2 separate regions of the Homo sapiens genome follow, and region 1 is linked to region 2. The links are contacts of gene promoters, found by promoter capture Hi-C in blood cells and fetal thymus (Javierre and others, 2016). All regions are on one chromosome and are shown on one strand. Each heading gives the region's core, a stretch centred on a gene start or on the middle of the fragment in contact. The rest is flanking DNA. Distances are from core to core; before and after follow the strand shown.

The links. The method cuts DNA at HindIII sites, captures the fragments that hold promoters and counts their contacts. A CHiCAGO score of 5 or more calls a contact.
Region 1: a contact is called between a fragment that was not itself captured here and the fragment with the promoter of GLB1L3 in region 2, in 1 of 17 cell types (naive CD4 T cells). The highest score is 5.5, in naive CD4 T cells.

What each region holds. Positions count from the first base shown.
Region 1 is chr11:134,371,588-134,378,484 of GRCh38, reverse strand. It overlaps GLB1L2 (galactosidase beta 1 like 2), which reads right to left. Exons shown (of 19, transcript NM_001370461.1): 15 at 6,655-6,733; 16 at 4,677-4,764; 17 at 4,229-4,340; 18 at 3,767-3,883; 19 at 2,161-3,513. The coding sequence ends at 3,427. LOC124902798 (a long non-coding RNA gene) reads right to left here and starts at 1,689. Exons shown (of 2, transcript XR_007062961.1): 1 at 1,231-1,689; 2 at 144-421. RefSeq lists an enhancer at 1,125-2,024. The HindIII fragment of the contact is 4,679 bases long and covers 1,562-6,240 here.
Region 2 is chr11:134,273,993-134,281,234 of GRCh38, reverse strand. It overlaps GLB1L3 (galactosidase beta 1 like 3), which reads right to left and starts at 4,856. Exons shown (of 20, transcript NM_001080407.3): 1 at 4,472-4,856; 2 at 3,784-3,909; 3 at 3,323-3,535. The coding sequence starts at 4,494. RefSeq lists a silencer at 4,678-4,747 and enhancers at 5,198-5,247, 5,398-5,527, 5,588-5,697. The HindIII fragment of the contact is 7,995 bases long and covers 3,018-7,242 here.

The DNA of each region.
Region 1 (6,897 bases), core at 2,652-5,151, 98 kb before region 2:
ATTTTGTTCTCATTTATTAATTTAGCTACCCAACAAGTATGTATCAGGTGCCTGTTATGAACAGGCATCATTCTAGGAGCCGACACACAGCAGTGAGAAAACAAGGCTCTCATTTTCAAAGAACTGACCCACTGACGAGAGGAGACAGGCAATAACGAATGCATATTATTTCAGATGCAATCTGTTGTATGGAGGATGAGGGTGAGTCGGGGAGACAGAGGTAGCAGTGGAGAGGGTCAGTGCTCTGTAGGGTGACCACAGAGGCCTCCGTGATAAGTGACCCTTGAGCGAAGCAGCAACACCCTGACATGCAGCTCCCCGGGCCCAAGAAGAACGAACTCTCCACCAGGCGGAACAAGCGTTGCTCAGCCTGCTTACAGATCAGCAGGAAGGCCATCGGGCTCAACTGACGGGGCGGGGGCTGCTGGGGGCAACAGCAGTGAGGGATGTGGTGGGCGTGGGAGAAGGGAGTCCCCAGGCACCGGGTGAAACCAGAAGGCAATAGGGGGTCCAGTACGGAGGACTAACATAATCTATCCATCTCTAAGAAGAACTGCCCTGCTCCTCCACGGAGGATAAATGGAGAGGGCAAGGGCAGGTGGAGACGTGGCTCCTGGAATCATCCAGGCCAAGATGCAGTGGGCTGAGTGGGGGCATGGGGTTGGGGCAGAGAGAAGCAGTCAAATTTTGGCCAAGTTTAGGAGGCAGAGCCAGGAGGATCTGCTGCTGGATTGGATGTGGGAGATAAAGAGAGGGGTCCAAAATAGCCCGAGACACAGAACAGCACTGCCATTTCCAGATACAGGGCTGCGTGCAGGAGGGGTAATGTGGGGAAATGGAGCTCTGTGTCAGGTGCCTGTTAGACACATGCAGAAGAAAATGCGCCCCCACACACCTGGAGCTCAGGTGCAGCCCAGCATCGGCGGGCGCGGGTGTCCAACCTGTTTACAAACCACAGGTGCACGGGTGAGACCCTATGCAGTGAGTGTGGACAGAGGAAAGAAACAGCCCAAGGAGTGGGCCAGAGACCCCCAGCATTCAGAGGCTGGATATGAAGAGGGATTCTCCAAAGAGACCTAGATGAGGCCATACCGTGTGGAAGATAATGGAAACATCTTTAGTCAACGCTGGAGAATAAGCTCTGCCAAGAGGTACTTTGATAGAGAAGCTGAGCAATTAACTGGCAGAAAATAAGGGTGAGAATAAGAAGCTGGTGTAGGAAGACCTCACCTTAGGAAACCACAGTGTGTCCTGCTCAGGTCTGCGTGGAAGTGTGATCCAAGGGGCTTCTCCACCTTACAGGAGGATTTGCAGGAAGGTTCCCTTCCATTCCATCACTTTCTGACGGAACCAGCTCATACACAGCTCTGCAGAAGCACACACTCAGGTAAAGCGGGGCAGAAGACCCTGCAGGTGGCTCAGGCCACACCCAAGTAGCCCGAGTCTCATCCACATCTTAGCCCCATGCTTGTCGTTCCGAGGCAGTTCCAGAAGAACTGGTGAGTTTGGGCAAAACCAGGGACTCTGCCCCATGTTGTTCCCAAGCCACTGTCCACAAGCTTTCCTTTAATAAGCTCCATTTAATAAGCCCTTGACCCGGCTCAGCTGCTGGGCTGCACACCACGAATGTCCCCTGCACTCCCCCTGGGCAGCCACACACGGGCAGCAAGCCTGCTGGCCTCAGTGAGCTCCACGGCTCACCATCCCCCAGCCCACCTTCACGGGGCTCCCAGAGCTCTCGCTGTGCCGGGGATGTGTGTGCTACTTGACTTTCTGACTCTTACTGGAGATAATTTGGTTTTGGCAGTAGATGCCAGATGTAGTTTGTGAAGCAAAACTCAACCCCGCAGTTAACTCATATGGAGCGCCCTTGACTGCCTGGCAGATTCTTACCCCCGCCCACCAGCATGAGAATGAATTTGCATTTGAACTGTCCTCTCCAGGGCACTTCCAATCCAGAGACATTTGAAGGGAAGTCGGGGTCAGGAGGGGAATATGAGGCCAGGATCATGGCCCACCCACCCCAGGGACGGTCCCCATCTGGACCCCCAGGCGGCAAGTGGGGCCCAATGGGAACCTGACCAAGAAAACCAAGCTCTCAGACAGCCTTCCCTTCTGGCAAGAGTGGCACACATGACCAGAGACTATCACCAGAGGGGGTGTGATTCAAGGTTATAGCTTTACTGCAACTCAGGACAGTGAGCCCAAGCCAGGTGTTGGGCTGGGCCCCAGAACAAGGCTCAAATGCGGACTTGGACACACTTCGAAGGAGGGCTGCTCTGCCCCTGCTGTTCGGGCGTGGGGGGTGGGGGGCGGGGGCCACTGAGCTGGGCCTTCTGTCCTCCTCCCTGGATGTGCAGACATGGGCCATGGCTTCTGCCAGGACTCACATGTGAGCTGGGCCTTCTGTCCTCCTCCCTGGATGTGCAGACATGGGCCATGGCTTCTGCCAGGACTCACATGTGAGCTGGGCCTTCTGTCCTCCTCCCTGGATGTGCAGACATGGGCCATGGCTTCTGCCAGGACTCACATGTGAGCTGGGCCTTCTGTCCTCCTCCCTGGATGTGCAGACATGGGCCATGGCTTCTGCCAGGACTCACATGTGAGCTGGGCCTTCTGTCCTCCTCCCTGGATGTGCAGACATGGGCCATGGCTTCTGCCAGGACTCACATGTGAGCTGGGCCTTCTGTCCTCCTCCCTGGATGTGCAGACATGGGCCATGGCTTCTGCCAGGACTCACATGTCCTCCTCACTGAACACCAGAGACACCTGCTAACTTGGGAAGACGCAGGGTGAGGATTTCTGTTTCTCCAGCCCAGCCTGTCACCCTGTGGGAAGCAGCGAGTGGGAAGGGAAAGGGGAAGTCACATGTTTCTCACGCCGAGTTCCTTCCAGAATCCCAAAGAAGGCTCAGAAGGTTGTGAAGGAAGAACAAAGTCAGCTCAGGTGAGACACCCCTTCCCCACCCTCTACACTGGTGACACACCCAGGATTTCGGGGATAAAATGGGGCCATGAGGGATGTGGCCAAGCCTCCCAGGAACCAGCAAAGAGCACGCCTGAGTCCAGCAGATGCTCGCAGGGCTGTGACGTCCAGTGCAAGGGCACGTTTCAGCACTTTTTCTGAGGGCCAAAGGCTGGGCGATCTGATTAGCTGCTCCCACCCTAGAGACAGCCCGACAGCCTCGGCACAAGAGCAGGGCTGTAGGAAAGCCATCATCAACAAAGCCAGGCCCAGAGCCATCCCACCTTTCCCTGCAGGCTTAGGGTTTTGAGCTGAGACAGGGGCAGACTGTAGCCCCCAGTCCCTGAGGTTGCTACTTAAGGAGATGCTTTTGCAGTGAGGGGTGGGGCAGCAGCCACCAGGCTTCAGGTCAAGAGGAGGCGGCAGTCTCCCACTGGCACCAGCAGGAGGGGGTGCCACCGCTCACTTAATGTACTGGTTCCTGCCCAGGTGGGGGGTTTCCGTGAACTGTAATGCAGGGCCCGCCATCGTCTCCTCAAAAACGATGACCTGTGGAGAGAGGGCCCGGCTGGGAGGGCAGCTGACGTCTGTCCTGGAGCCAGGGGAGGTGCTGAGAGGTGGCAGGGTCAGAAGGAAAGGGTTTGGGAACCAGGCTGGAAGGGACAGGGACCAACAACTCGTCTGCAGCGAGGAGGAGGGAGGAAGAACCCGCTGACACGCCCCTCCACCCTGACCGAAGGCTCCCTGGGACGGCAGGTGGGCAGGGCGTCATGGGGAACAGGAAGGGGCTGGAAGCTCCCACCTGGTTGATTCCGCTGCTCAACCAGGGACCTGGGAGGTAAAGCGTCTTCTGGGGTCCAATGTTCCAGTAACGTCCAAGGTTCTGGCCATTGATGAATACAACCCCCTTCTCCCAGCCCTTGAAACAGAGGGGAAGGGTGTTCATCTACCACGAGAGCCACAGCAAAAGTGGAGGGAGACATGCATGCGTGCTTCTCTCAGGTCCAGGAGACCAAAGCGAGCTGTGTCTGGACAGCCATGAGGGTGGGCAGGTGGGATGCTCTATTTCCTGTCCCCCTAGTGCATGAGGTGTTTCTTCTGCTGGGAACCCACTCCTCTGGCCCAGGGAGGCCCCAGCGGCCCTCTCAGACCCTCTGGGCACAGAAGCCACCAACGACTCTCGCCAAGCTCGTGGCTTTGGCTCAGAGCCCTCCAAGGCGGGAGGCAGGTGGGAGAAACTGGCAGGGAAAAGGGCGTTACCAACCTCCAGCTTCAGAAAGGTGTCACAAGGGGTGGAGCTGATGGACAAGCTACCCAAGAAGAAAGCAGGTAATGTGGGTGTTTCTGGGAGGGAACTCCATTTGTCCAGGCCGAACCTAAGGACAGAACACAGAGAAGGAGAGGGAGGAGGCCCTTCTCAATCCACCAGCACAATAAAGCAAAATAAAAGGCCCTGACACCGTTTCCCCATCCAAGGCCCCCCGCCTCTTAACCAGGACACAGAATGGCAGCACGGTAGGATGCTGGGAATTCCTAGTCTGCAAATGCGGCTTCTAGTGCGGGTGCCACCCCTCACCTCGGCCAGCCGATCTGGCCCCTGGAGGCGTTCACACCTGGGTGCGGGCCAGGCCACGGTGCACCAGGGACCCCTGGGCCCCACCACACAGCACTATACCTGTGAGTGCAAGGGCTGGTGCTGGGCAGGGACCCACCTCTGAAAGAAGCTCTTCTTCATATCCAGGCTATAGATTCTGAAGTTTTTCAGGGGTGAATCATTCAGATAGAGATTTCCAATTAAGCCTGTGGGAGGGAGGCAGGACACGTGGGTAGCCCAAAGGCAGGGGCCGAGTCAGCTGGGCCGGGGCCACGAGGGGAAGCCCTGGGAAGCTGGGGTGAGGGGTGCTGAAGTGTACGCTCCCTGAGAAGCTGGGGTGAGGGGTACTGAAGTGTACGCTCCCTGGGAAGCCGTTCGCTTGCAAGCAAAGCTCCCTAGCAATTCTGTGGGGGACGGGAAGGAGGAAGACCCTAAGATTTGCCATGGGAAGGATATAGAGCTGAGGTGTTACAGGGCGAGAACAACCTCTGGCCTCTCTCTGAAGGAAGTTCCAGATGACCGAGAGGGTTCTGGCCTAGCTGCAGGGCCAGTTTCAGTGGGGCCCAAGCTACACAGACCTAATAACTCAGCCAGAATCATCTCTGCCACCTAGGATTAAAGCTGTGCATTAGGAGTGTTTGGACTGTGAGCAGATGGCACCCTCCCTCGGGCATCCAACAGGGAAGAGATGTGTCCTCTTGAGGAGCCACTCATCAGTGTCCCGGGGCCGGGCCAGCCCTGCCAGTCTCAGATTACAGAGCTGCTGAGTGGCTAGCTTGGGAATTTGGAGGCCGAGGACTGTGGAGAGGCTTTGCAGGGCCTACAGACTCCGAAATGGCAGGTGCGGGTCTATGTGGGCACGCGCATTTCTCAAGGGAGGTCTGTGACTTATAAACATTGAACTGTGATCCAGAGGACAGGACTCCACAGTGTGGGCCCAGGGGACCCTCAACAAGGGCTCAGGGAAGCAAAGTTAGGAACAATGGTCAGGCTGGTGCTCCTTCCAACTCCCAGGAGAACAACAGAAGTGAGGACAGGCCCAGAGAGGGAGCTGTCTAGGGTAAAGGAGTGTGGGCCTGGGTGGTGCTAGATGCCGCTCTGAGGCCCATCTAGAAGGGCCCTGATCCCCAGGATCCAGGCCCCAGTGTCTGGGCCACGTGGCTTTCCTGGCAGGCCACCAGACGGCTCTCGGAGGAAATGTGGACCAATAAGAGCTCTTCAAGTTTCCTCCGTCACAAACGCAGACACCGTGAGAGAGCTGGGAGGTCACCGGTGCTGCTCACCACAGTCGCATTCATTTTGTTCTGAGTTCTTTTTTTATAACTTACCTGAAACCACCCACATTTAGCTAGATTTTTTTTAAAAAGGAAGGGCTAAATTTGGGCACGGTGGCGGGCGCCTGTAGTCCCAGCTACTCGGGAGGCTGAGGCAGGAGAATGGCATGAACCCGGGAGGTGGAGCATGCAGTGAGCCGAGATTGCACCACTGCAGTCTGGCCTGGGTGAAAGAGCGAGACTCCGTCTCAAAAAAAAAAAGGAAGGGCTAAATTAAAGCATAAAAGATTTAGTAGGCCAGGAAACATAAAGCAAATTGGCGGCCTATTCCCAGAGGGGTACGCTACCAACAGGTGTTTTGTTTGCTGTATGTCCCGCATCCTCCTCCCCCAACATCTGAGATAAGCTTTCCCAAGATGGATCAAGAAGAGAACTTCAGTGTGGAGGCCCAAGAAGGCAGGGGTCTTGTGCCTTTCCTTGGATTCCTGGAAATCACATTCATTGCTCCTCACTGCCGCCCCCCCAAGCAGACATCCTTGCAGAAACCGACTGCAGCCCAGGGGAGACAAGAGGCCAGCTCAGTGTTCACAGTGTTTATCACGAGCACGCAGACGATGCACGCGTGCAGTGCTAACAGGACAGGGGCCACAGCCCAGCGGAGTTTCTCTGGCCCACTCAGAACTGGCCTCATGTATGGGACAACCCAGCCTCCACCTCCCTGCAAGAGGCCTCCATGGCCTGGTGGCCTGCTAGCATAGAGAAGCAATAGCCACCTGTGTGTCCAGCATGGCCACTCTTCTTTTGACACATTCTGGGACCCACCTTTGCGCTGGTCATCAATATTCTCCCCATAGTTGACTCGCCCACGATTCTCCACCAAGATCCTCAGCACGGTGTAACCCTGCCGGGAACACGGGGCTAACGATGACTGTCAGAAGGCCACAGCTGCCCCTCAGAATTTGCTTGTGGACCCCAGTTCTTCCCTACGCTCTGGGGATGGGAGTGTACATCCCAGCTGGGCAGAAAGCCACACTCGCCCTCTCCACCTACAGCTTGTGGGTAAGG
Region 2 (7,242 bases), core at 3,607-6,106:
TTACACTAACCATGACCATCTTTAATAGTTCCTTGCTCTATTATCCAATTGTGGTTCAAGCTGCCAATTATCCTATGATGCTGGGTTTCTTGGGATTTATATATAAATTCTTCCACTCACTGCCCTATTGTAACACTCATTAAAAGTATAAATTAAAAAAGAGAACAAAAACAAAAATGTCTACATCTTCCTTATAAATTTTTGCTATGAGTTAGTCAAAATAAGAATAAATGAGGAGTTTCTGTGAAGATAGTGGAGTTACAGTAAATCTAGTAAGGGTACTACCTTTAGACCTTAGCAAGAAGGGCCCCCAGGGGACCCTCCCCCATAGGGCTATGAGTAAAAATTTTATTAGGTATACCAGGCATAGTTCACTAGGCAACTGTGTTTTTTTGTGCCACTGGCAACATGTTTGAGTGTTATGCCCCTTAACATCATGTTTCCTATAAGCCCTGTGGTTTTTATTACACAATTTTGTGCAGTGCAGAGATTTTTGACAATACATCGTAGAACTGACTGTATGGCCCACCAAGAAGACATACTAATCATGGCCTTCTATGAGCTTAACAACGTAGCTTGTTGTATGTTGTAAGTTACAACATAGCTTGCCGTAAGTAAAGGAGAAGCTGACTGAATTAGAGAGGACCTGGATACATCAGTTACCATCACAGTGAAAAGATTTAAAGTACCCCTCTAAGAAACAAAGAAAATAAGCAGCAAAAAAAGAAAAAGAAGAAACTTGTAAGGATACAGATTTGAACTGTGTAATTAAAAGTCGGCATGTAATAAATACATAGAGAACCCAGTAGCCAACAGATGGAGCATCTACATTCCCTTAAAAAGCGCATCTGTACAACTAAGTATGAAAAAAGAATGTAAAATTTAAAAGACCAAAATTTAAAATGCATGAAACAGTTGTAAAATATTGGCATGTACTATGTCACGAAGTAAATCTCAACAAATTCCAAAAACCTATATCACATAGTCCATGATCCCAAGATAAATGCAAACAAATTTAAAAATCACAGTTAAATAGTAAAATTTAAATAAATAAATAAATAAATAAAACAGAAAGCGTATTCCCAAATAGCTAATAGAAACAACATCAAAACTTAGGAAATATTTGAAAATAAATGACATTCAAAGCACTATATAGCAAAATTTGTGGGCTATATAACCAAAGCAACACTCAGAGAAACATTCATATCTTTGAAGGAATATATTAGAAAACACAAAAGACTGGAAGTAAAAGAAGCTAAATTTTAACTCAGGGAAAAAGAAGAAGGAGGAGGAGGAAACTGAGAAGGACAGAGAAGAGAAGGTACTATATTTAATAAAGTAGAGAAAAGGAAATTACACATAACTCAGAAACTGTGAAATACAGATCCGAAATATACAGAGAGTACTAACAAAGCTACAAGCTAGTTATCTGAAAAGACTAAATAGATAAGATTAAGAAAAAAGAAAAAAACAGCCAAAATACACAACGTGATGTATATAACTTCCAAGTGAGTACAGGAAAGAAAGGAAAAATTTCTTAAGTCCCAGTGGGTTCAAAAGAAGAAAGAAGGCTGGGCGAGGTGGCTCACATCTGTAATCCCAGCACTTTGGGAGGCCGAGGCAGGCGGATCACCTGAGGTCAGGAGTTTGAGACCAGCCTGACCGATATGGTGAAACCCCATCTCTACTAAAAATACAAAAATTAGCCGGGTGTGGTGGCGGGAGCCATAATCCCAGCTACTCAGGAGGGTGAGGCAGGAGAATCACTTGAACCCAGGAGGGGGAGGTTGCAGTGAGCAGAGATCGCGCCACTGCACTCCAGCCTGGGCAACAGAGCAAGACTCTATCTCAAAAAAAAAAAAAAAAAAAAGAAAAAGAAAACAGAAAGAAAAAAGAAAGGAAAGAAAAAAAGGGGGAGAGCAGGATGTATTCAAGAAGAAATAGAGGACATGAGTTAATAACCATTCAAAGAGCTATGTCGTCCCCAAACCCTTCACCTCACAAACCACAAAAGATAGTAGTCACAGAGTTTACAGGTGAATCTTAAGAAACTTTCAGGGTAAAGATAATTCTTGTGCAAAATATTTCCAATAAGTAAGAAAAGAAGATTTACTCACTTTATGAGCTTATTATAAGATTGATTCAAAACTGGACAAGAATACTAACAAAATAAAATTTTAAATCCGTTTTGCTTATAATCATAAACACATTTGAAATAAAACACTAGCAAATAAAGTCTAGCAATCTGTGTGTATGTAATGTGTGCCTATCTCAGAGCCAAGCAGAGTTTATACCAGTACCACATGGCTGCTTGACTATCAGAAAAATTGCCGTTGTAATTCAGCAATTCAAAAGAACAGTGAAGAAAAACTATATTGTCCCCCCAATACATGCAGTAGCAGCTCTCAATAAAACTCAACGATTATTTCTGATTAAATTCTTTGCATTTTAAATGAACCAGTTTACTGCCTCTCAGCTTCAAATTCACCCTTCAATACCAGCTCTGCAATAAGGCACAGGGCCCTCTAAGCATCTTCTCCTTTACAGTGAGTGTGATGGTAAGCTTGCCACAAAATGGTGGTGGCAGGCCCTCAGGAGGACAGGGCCTCTGATTCTGGAGCAGTTTTGCTTTTTTGTGGTCATACAGGGTGGCTGGTCAGTTGTATACAGGCATGAGGACGACCGTGGTGTTCCCTTTTAAAGGGTGAACTGCTTGAGTCCAGGAGTTTGAGACCAGCCCAGGCAACATGGCGAAACTCCATCTCTACAAACAATTCAAAAAATTAGCCTGGTGTGGTGGCATGCACCTGTGGCCCCAGCTGTTCAGGAGGCTGAGGCAGGAGGATCACCTGAGCCAGAGAAGTAGAAGCTGCCGTGAGCTAAGATCGGGCCACTGCACTCCAGCCTGAGCAACAAACAGAACAACAAACTGTGTCTCAAAAAAAAAAATTTTTTTTTGTTTTAAAAACATGCATGTATCTGTAAGTACATATTTATCTGTAAGTGTGCCTTAAGCTTATGTCATTAAACTGAGTGCTCCCAAGGGCGCCTGGTGTTCCTTCATTAGACAGACAGAATCCTGAGGAAATAACCTCCTCCCTTGAGATTCTCCCACTAACCCCTATCCAAGTCTTTGATCACAGAGCAAACTCAGCATGAGACTAAGTGACAGCTGGACGCTTAAGCATTAAATGTATGTGCTGGAAACGACTGTGCGGAAGGTAAGTCCTCACGCTGGGCCCCCAAAATCGGAGGCTCAGGTTCCCGGCCAGGATGCACTTGTAGGGTAACGAGATCCTGGAGGTGAGGGGCCGGCACTCACGTGGTGACAGTATTGAAGCCACAGGCCTTCAGCTTCAGCAGGCGGTCCCTCCAGTACTCCCTGGGCACCCGGAAATAGTGGATGGAGCCCCCGAAGATCAGGAACTTGTGGCCCTCCAGTGTGAAGTGGGGCTTACCCCGACCTGTGCTTTCAGTTCCAAGTCCCACAGATCGATTCTTCAGCTCCAGAGGGGTCAGATGAGACCAATTAAACCTGGAGGGGGCGGGCGAGGGAAAGAAAGTGGAAAGGGAGAGAGGATTCGGGAGAGGGCTCGGAGGCACGGCTGAAACCCTAGCGAAAAGAAGTTTTTGTTAGTAGGACGTGTTCTGTGCATATGTTAGTAGGACGTGTTCTGTGCATATGTTAGTAGGACGTGTTCTGTGCATATTCGCGATACTATTTTCTCCAAGAAAGGAGAGATCGCTCCCCTCCCTCCCCAGGGATGTAGCTCTCAAGCAAACCTAGGCTGGGACGGATGCGCTCTTCCAAGCATGAAGTTCTCTTCCTGCTTAAACCGAGGAGCAAAACCTGATGAGATAAATGGCAGGAAAAAGATGCCCGCCATTCTCTTCCAGGAGAGACACGGGCTGAAAGGAGAAAGGACAACAGTGACAAGGGGAAGGTTCCGGCCCCACCGGGCTGCAAGGGCCGGGAAGCTGTGCCGGGGGCGCTTTAGAGGCCAGAGCCAGGGAGGGGGCCCGCGACACAGGCGGGTCTTCCAGGCGGGCCCAGGGCCAGGACAGCGCGGCATCACCCGGCCAGTCCTCTGCAGCCAGGATGAAGGCCGGGGACAGACGTTCAGTCCTAGACCCTCCAGACAGGGCTGGGCAGTGCCGGTGGGTGCCTGGGAGAGGCGGAGGCGGGCGCACTTCCAGCACCAGGTTCGGGAAGGACACGGTGCCCAGCCGCTGGAGCCCCTGGCCTGCGTGCCCCACCCTGATTTTCTGGCATCTGGTGAACGGCCCCTCCGCAGGGTGGGGGTAGCCAGGGGATCTGCCGAGGAAAGCTGGGGACAGCGGGCTTGGTGGCGCGGCCCGGCGCGGCGCGTGCCTGGGGCGCGTGGCCGGCCACAGAACCCGGGGAGGGTGGAGGCTCCCGGGCACGCGCCGGGGTGGTGGGCAGCCCGGGACGGCAGCGGCGATCCGTCACCTGAGGAGGGGCGGGGACTTCATCGCGGCCAGGCCGAGGCGCCGAGGGTCCCTTGCGGCTTCCGCCCCTCTCCGCTGGCCCCGACGCCGCGCTCGGGCCGGGACTCGAGCCCCGGTTCCGCGGGGCAGGCTCAGGTCTGCGCGCTGCGCCTGCAGCCGAGGCAGAAATCCGTCCCGAGGCGCGGGCGCCGGGTCCGGGTCCCAAGGATGCGCGTCGGGCTCCCTCCCGCGGGGACAGCCGAGCTCCGCCGGCGCTCCAGGTGTTCCCGCAGTGCGTCCGGGCGCGGACGCCTCTCTGCCCTCGGAGGGGAAGCGGGAGGGCCCTTGGGGTAACGCCCCGACCTCGGGCTTCCTAACCTGGGTCGACAGCCGGCTGGCACAGGGAGGCCTGCGCGGGAGAGGGGCGGAGAGAGCGCAGCGCGGGGCACAGCGGGCGGTCTCCGTGCCGCGCGCGCGACTGGAAACGGCGTGCAGATCCTAAAACGAGGGTTCCACAGAGGGCCACGAGGGGCAGGAGAGAGTCCCCGGAGAACTCTAGCTCCCCGACACGGCTACCTCTTGGCAAACGAGCGAGAATTGGGGCGCAGAGCCTTGGGAGGGCCGTTCCCTCGGCGGGAGCGGCCCGAGCACAGCCTCACAGCAGATGCGAGCGCGGCGGGCGCTTTGGTGACGAAGTAGCGGGACCTGCAGGAGGCAGAGGCCTGGTGGGGCCGTGGACGCCACGCCGAGCTGCCCAGACCCTTCCAGAAGACAGTGGGGACTATTCAACGGTTTCCAGCAGAAACTAAGCCAGGTGTTCGTTTTACGGAGATTGCTCGGCTGCAGGGTGGAGGCTGGATGAGAACAGGCGTCCTCTCAGGTAGGCGCTCGTGGTGGTAACGCTGCCCAGGAGGAGGGCACGGGTTCCGGGAAGACTTGCGAGGTTAAACCGGCAGCTCCGGAGAACTGAGCGCAAGAGGTCGGTGACACAGAGAGGAGTCCGGGAGGCCGCATGTTTCAGGCTGAAGTCACTTGGCGGGGACGTTTATTGAGATGCGAAACACAGGAAGGGATAGAGGCTGCGCAGAGGGAAAAGGCGATGGACTCGGTTTTGGAAACGCTGATGTGAAGTCCCTACGATGAAAAAAGAAATCTTCCGATTTCTCCCTTTGAAGTCTTTGCTTCTTCCGTTGCAAAGAACACAGCCTATGACATCAGGTTGAAACCAAGAATGTAGTTCTCTGAAAATACTGTGTGTGGGGGAGGGAGTTTATCTTGTCTCATTCCTTACAAGGATACTTTGCTCTCCGACACCTTAGCTCCCTGAAAGTTTCCTAGATCGTCCATCTTTTCCTCATTTTTTCGACTGCAAGCAATGAACTGTTAATTTTTTACAGTTTGGTTTTACAGCCACACACTTTATTCTTCTTTGTCAAGTTTAAAGTATTCTAGGGCTTGTGCCTTCCCACATAAAATTTAGAATAAACTTGTCTGTTTCTACAAAAAGCCATGTTGGTATTTCGAGAGGAATTGCAATCAACCTATGGATCAAATTGAGAATTGTATCCTTATTATGTTGAATCTTCCAACCCACGAACATGGTATGTCTGTCTATTTAAATAGTTTTTTTTTTTTCACTTCTTTCATCAGAATTGTGTGATTTTTTCAACATCAGATCCTATCACGTTTTGTTAGGTTTATACTTAAATATTTCCTTTGCTCTCAAGAGATTTAAACTGTTATTATTTTTATTTCAGTTTTTACATGTTTGTTGTTAGCATACAGAAATGTGATTGTGTTTCTCATGTTGATCTCATATCCTGTGACCTTGGCAAACTCACCTATTAATTTTAAGAGGTTATTTGTGTATTACTTGGCATTTTCCATGTAGATAATCATGTCATCTGCAAATATGGAGAGTTTTATTTCTACCTTTCCAGTCTGCGTGGCTTTTTATTCCTTTTTTTGTGTGTCTTAGTATGATGACTAAAATTTCTGTGTTGAATAAGAGCGGCAGGAACTGACACTGTTACCTTGTCCCCAGTGTCAGCTGGAAAACATTCTGTTTTTCACTATTAAGTATGATGACAGCTATAGGTTTTGTGTACATATTCTCTATCAAGTTGAAAGAGTTTGACAGCTGGGCCTGCAGTCACTAGAAATGCTGTGGTGCTTTATTGGAACAAGCTATGTATCAAGAATTGTGATTTTCTGCAGGCGTTGCTGGAGGAATTTTGACAAAGGTAGAAGAATCAAATAATGGATTATTGGTTCATTTGAAAGATGACATATCCTGTGTCCTTTTGCCATCTGGGGCTCCCCTCTGCTGATGGAGTATTTGAGAACCTCTATGAAGGAGCCCTGGAGAGTGAAAGTTCCCCCAGATTTCTGTGCTCATTAAACCTGTAGAACTCTTGAAAATGTGCAAGGTGAAGTAACAATTTTGATCAAACAAAGCTGTCAGTTTCTGTCTTGAGATTACAGAAGTAACTCTACAAGGCCAACATCCCAAGCACAGGAAAGACCAGCCACTAGGGCCGCAGACCCAGCATCCTGGTACAATTTATTAAAAAAAAAAAAAAAAATCAATATTTTTCCCTTCAGTTTCCATCCAGATAACTGATAATGAAACAAAGAGCTAATTTCCCAAAGCAGGCAGAAAGCATCAAAAAGCTCCCAGAGCTGAGTGTGCAAACTTCCTGTGCCAGTGCTTTGATGTTAATAAAGCACAATTCCTGCTCCTAAATTGCTCTCTTGTAAGAACAGCAGCTTCCAGAAAAAGAAGGCAGCACT